Linked DNA regions of Homo sapiens: region 1 is linked to region 2. Evidence: promoter capture Hi-C in 16 types of primary human blood cells and fetal thymus (Javierre and others, 2016). All regions are on one chromosome and are shown on one strand. Each heading gives the region's core, a stretch centred on a gene start or on the middle of the fragment in contact. The rest is flanking DNA. Distances are from core to core; before and after follow the strand shown. Region 1 has its middle 1.6 kb from the start of SCN5A. Region 2 holds the start of XYLB (xylulokinase).

What was found. Contacts are between HindIII fragments. The CHiCAGO score rates a contact against its expected background, and 5 or more counts as called.
Region 1: a contact is called between a fragment that was not itself captured here and the fragment with the promoter of XYLB in region 2, in 2 of 17 cell types (non-activated CD4 T cells and naive CD4 T cells). The highest score is 8.2, in non-activated CD4 T cells.

Annotation. Positions count from the first base shown.
Region 1 is chr3:38,649,943-38,652,642 of GRCh38, forward strand. No RefSeq gene overlaps it. Among named protein-coding and RNA genes, the nearest start is that of SCN5A, 1.6 kb to the left of the region's middle. The HindIII fragment of the contact is 703 bases long and covers 901-1,603 here.
Region 2 is chr3:38,345,420-38,348,119 of GRCh38, forward strand. It overlaps XYLB (xylulokinase), which reads left to right and starts at 1,366. Exons shown (of 19, transcript NM_005108.4): 1 at 1,366-1,506. The coding sequence starts at 1,450. RefSeq lists enhancers at 1,143-1,974, 1,975-2,700 and silencers at 1,533-1,772, 1,783-1,842. The HindIII fragment of the contact is 4,748 bases long and covers 1-2,640 here.

The DNA of each region.
Region 1 (2,700 bases), core at 2-2,501, 300 kb after region 2:
CGGACAGACAGACATAGGCGGGGGTACACACACGGCGACCCGGCGACGCTTCACCACAGATGGCCACCCACGCGGACGCGGACAGGCTCACATTAACAAACACTGGCATACACACCAGCACCCGCCAGAGTATACACACACACACACGCAACCTTGCTGACTTGGGAAGGCTACCAGACACCCACCCACCCACGTGGACACGGGCATACACTGACACTCATGCCGAGACAGACACACGCTGCCATAGGCATACCTGCACTGACACAGACACACACATGCACCCTGAGACAGATACACACCCCCACACACCCACACAGACACAGACAGACACATCATTGACACACACTGACACTGAGGAAGACACTCTGACAAACTTAGACACCCACATGACTTAGACACACATCCACTGACACACTGACACAGAGACACACACACTCACTCGAACCACACTTTCCTGGAGACACACTTAGTGATGCCACAGAAATCTGCACAATGGTACACATCTACCTGAACACACGGACGCACATGCTGACAGAACCAAACACACACCCAGACCCAGAAGCAAGCAGGCAACCAACACAGAGACACCCACACACGCGCGCGCGCAAACACACACACACACATACATATATATACATGTATATACCTCTTTATATATATACTTCCACCCTCTTGAGCCACATACAACCTTCACCTTGACACATGCAGAGCCTGGAGTCACATACTTACACACCCACTGTTTCTCACTCAGAGACATGGTCACAGGCACACACACACGGAGACATACGCTGACAAACAGTTGCTCCCATGCCCATGCCCAGGACCTATGGGGACACACTTCTTGTTTAAACAAAACAGGCCATCAGGGCAACCCGCTTGGGTCCCCTTCCACGCTGTGGAAGCTTTGTTCTTTCCCTCTTCACAATAAATCTTGCGCTTCTAAAAACAAAAACAAAAACAAAACAAAACAACAACAAAAAACAGGCCATCAGCTTTTGCCCACGAAAAAAGTACAGTCATTGGAAGGGATGGTACACTTTTCTGCCACATTTTCAGGGCTCCCAAAAGCAAGAACCGCTCTTAGAGAGCCAAATGGGTGCCAGGGTCTCAGAGGGCACAGAGGTGCTGGGTTTGGGAGCCCAGAGGCTGGGACCTGCTCCTCCATGATGGGGATCTTGAAGAGGTGGGAGGGCAAAGAGGGGGGTGGGGGACAGCGTCCGTTTGCGACCTGGGTGTGGGGCTTCGTTGGACGCCTTAGGTACATACGGAGGGGCTGCTCTGCTTGCAGGAGGGGATCAGTAGGAAAGTCAGTCCACAGGAAAGTTCAGGACATGGGCCTCTCCGGCCCCGAGTTGAGTGGGGTGTCTGGGGTACAGACGGATGGACCACACAGGTCGGCTGCCAGCCTTTAGCGCCTGACGAGCCTCAGGTTGGCTAGCAGCTCCCACTATCGGCCAGAAGGGGAAGTGCAGGCAGTGTCAACGTTTCAACCCACGTGCAGCCGCCTTCCCAGAGTCACACCTACCAGGCAGGAGAGTACAGTAGCAGGAAGGTCCTACCTCCCCTAAGAACTTCCATCACGGGCTTCTCGGCCTCAGAATGAAGCTTCTACTTGCAAACTGACATTGGGTCAAGCAGGAGACAAGGCTAGGATAGAAGCTGCTGGGAGTAGGGGTGGATACCTGCCTCCCTTCCGTCCATATGTAGCAGAAGTGGGGTTTTCACTCTCCTGTTTAGTATTGGGCAACTGGATGTTGCCAGCAGGAGAGGTGGGCTGAGCCTGGTAAGTCTACATGCACCCTGAATTTAAACAGGGGGAGAGAAGCCCAGGGGATGGGGAACCAGAGCTCTGAACCTGTAGAAGTTCATCCATAAAAGCACACCTTGTGGTCCTAGAGAGGCCTCAGAGTGCAGAGACAGGCAACAGGTGTCTGGAGACAGGCACTTCCTACAAAGAGCCCTTGCCAAGATCTTGGCTACTCCCTTCTCTTTGCCAGACCCTATTTAAATTTTTTGTTTTGTTTTGTTTTGTTTTGTTTGAGACGGAGTCTTGCATTGCCTCCAGGGCTGAAGTGCAGTGGCGTGATCTCGGCTCACTGCAACCTCCGCCTCCCCAGTTCAAGCAATCCTCCTGCCTCAGCCTCCTGAGTCTCTGGGATTGCAGGTGCTCGTCACCATGCCCAGCTAATTTTTTGTATTTTTAGTAGAGACGGGGTTTCACCATGTTGGCCAGGCTGGTCTCGAACTCCTGACCTCGTGATTTACCCACCTCGGCCTCCCAAAGTGCTGGGATTACAGGCGTGAGCCACCATGTCTGGCCAACCCTATTTAATTAAAGCAATAACAGGAACATGTTGTCAGCTGTCAGAGATAAATGTTTTTAAAAACTAGTATGTCCTTTATTCGCCCCTCAGTTTCGCCCAGGGTTTGCCTTTACTTTGCCTCAGGTTCAAAGCTGGGTTAACCATATCATTACTCCTCTCTTGTGTTTTTGTTTTATTTCTTCCCCCATCATCACTCCACTGCCATCTCCTTCTCCACACAGGCACCCCTCTAGGAGCTAAAGTAGGTCTTTATGTGCACATCCTTGTAAAACAGGTAGTATTGTTGTTTGTGCATATGCATTTTCTCTTCTAACAGCCCAAAGCTTTTCTTTTTATGTTTTACTTCCATTGAACCTACATAATGGAAAACTGCACA
Region 2 (2,700 bases), core at 116-2,615:
ACCCAGAAGGCAGAGGTTTCAATGAGCTGAAATCACGCCATTGCACTCCAGCCTGGGCAACAAGAGTGAAACTCCGTTTCAAAAAAAAAAAAAAATTAGCTGGGTGCGGTGGTGTGCGCCTGTAATCCCAGCTACATGGGAGGCTGAGGCAGAAGAATCAGTTGAACCAGGGAGGTGGAGGTTGCAGTGACCGGAGATCACGCCACTGCACTCCAGCCTGGGTGACAGGAGTGAAACTCTGTCAAAAAAAAAAAAAAAAGTCATCAAGCAGTTAAGATTAGATTAAAATGCAGTAATCTAATCTTAATTAGATTAGATACTTAGATACCTTTATTTAAAATTTTTTAAAAGTGGAGATAATAGTACCTACTTCCCAGCATCATTGTGACGATTAAATGTGCTCAGCAGGTTGCATAATTGTTTCTGATCTAGCTAGTATCCAGTATTTGTCTATTGTCACAGGTGGTGACTGCTGGAGGGGCTGAGTCCCCAATAAGCTGTGAATGTCTTGGAGGACAAGTATGTTGGCCCCTTCTTGTTCTAGCAGTGAAGAGGATCCCATGTAGACTCCAAGCAGCTCAAGTTCAGCAAGGGAGACAGACCATTGCAAGTGCATGAAAAGGGCACTGGTGGGCTGGGAAGTTCGTAGGAGGAGCCTCTCACATGCTGGGTTTGGGGAGGAATTCTGGAAAGCAGTTAGTCTTAGGGACGGGAAGGATGTAGCTGGTGGGACAGGCGCCCTCAGCTCCATGAATAAAAGGAGTGGGTCTGACTCTGGTTCTCATTCCCCTTTACCATGCCTGGCACACATTAGACCATCAATACCAATTGACTCCAGGAAGGAGTGTCTCCCCGTGGGGGCATCAGGAGCCGCTGAGTTTAAATACACAGGTGGGATGTGACACACTGGGAACCATTCAGATTTGCTGGATCTGGATAGGGCTTGTCAGGACTCAGTGCTTCCAACCCCAGGGCCCATTTCCCTGTGGCCCCTGAGTCACCACCATGGGTGGACAGCTGCTCCAGTGCCAAGATACAGCCACAGAGGACGGCAGGCCCAGGGCCTCCAGAAGGACAGGCAGGCTCCCTCTGAAAGACAAGCCGGCTTATAGCTGAAACCTCTGGCCCAGGCGTCCTCTAAGGGAAGCCAGGCGGTGTCAGGGCACGGCCCATGAAGACATAAGATGAAGATGGGGAGAACCAGAGGGGGTGCGCTTCGAAGGAAAGCGGGCTGCGTGGGGGCACCGTCGATTGCACAGGACGCGGTCCCGGCTCGCGTAGCCCCGCAGGCGGCGCCAGAGCGCAAGCCCGCCTCGTGACTCCGGTCCACAGTCCGGCCGGGCGGAGCTAGGGGCGGGCCCCTGCGTCTCTGGGCGCTGGAGCGCGGCGACTATCACGCCGCGTGGCGGACGGACGGACTGACGGACGCGCAGCCTTACCCGAAAGGCCATGGCGGAGCACGCCCCTCGCCGCTGCTGCCTGGGCTGGGACTTCAGCACGCAGCAGGTACAGTCGCCTGGCCGCAGGGCCACGGGGCCGCCTCCTCCGCTTCGGTGGGGGTAGGGGGCGGGCTGTCACCCGGACGCGGGAAAACATGGGCCCGGCCGCGGGCGCGCCTACCTCTCGGGCTTCCCGGGGCCCCCGCGCCCCTGCCCTGCGCGCGGCCGTGGGGCGCCGGTGCCCTCGCCCGGAGATGCCCTGCCAATGCCACCCGCTCGCAAGATGCGGCCTCGACCCCGCCTGGACCCAGCTACCCCAGGAAACTGCAGGCGCTCCTCGGCAGGACCCCCGGTGCCCAGAGGGGCCGGAGGACTCGGCGGGTTCCTGCGCTGTTCTGGGCACCCAGTGACGGGGATCCGAAGGAAGTCAGCTACTGTAAGGCAGGGGAACAGACAGGCGGGTAGCCCTGCGCACATGCACAACCAGTGACCTGGAAGCAGATTATAGCCCAAAACCTTTTTTTAAAAATTGAAATGGCCCAGGCCTGGTGGCTCTTGCCGGTAATCCCAGCACTTTGGGAGGCCGAGGCGAGTGGATCGCTTGAGCCCAGGAGTTCGAGACCAGCCTGGGCAATATGGAGAAACCCCGGTCTCTACCAGAAAATACAAAAATTAGCCGGGCATGGTGGAGCACACCTGTAGTCCCAGTTTTTCTGGAGGCTGAAGCGGATCGCTTGAGCCCAGGAGGTGGAGATTGCAGTGAGCTAAGATGGCGTCACCGGTCTCCAGCCTGGGCGACAGAACGGGACCCTGTCTCAAAAAAAAAAAAAGAAAAAAGTGAAATGCATAGTGTACAAGTGGACTTTACCCTGTGACCGCCCTTCGTTGACACCAGCTTGCCTGGTCTGTGCACCCAGGACTGCTGGCCAGAGGAGCAGTGTGCTGCTGCCAACGCCCTGCAGACAGGCAAGCAAATCAAAATTTGCCTTCAAAGAGGGCATGGGGTGACCGGGGGCACCTTTTCCTTTAAAGTACTTGGGAAATATACACAGTTGCAGTCAAACCCCTCTTCTCGAATGGGTCAAGGGAGGCAGGCCTCTGGCCAGTCCTTGGGGGAACGTCCTGTGGGACTCTGGATGACTCGAGTTGCCTTGCTGGACCTCAGTTTTCCCATCTGTCCAGGAAAGGAGTTATACTCCCAAGCTTGGAGATTGCTTCAGTGGGACATTAATGTCTCTGGACCACAATCATGGCCTGTGAG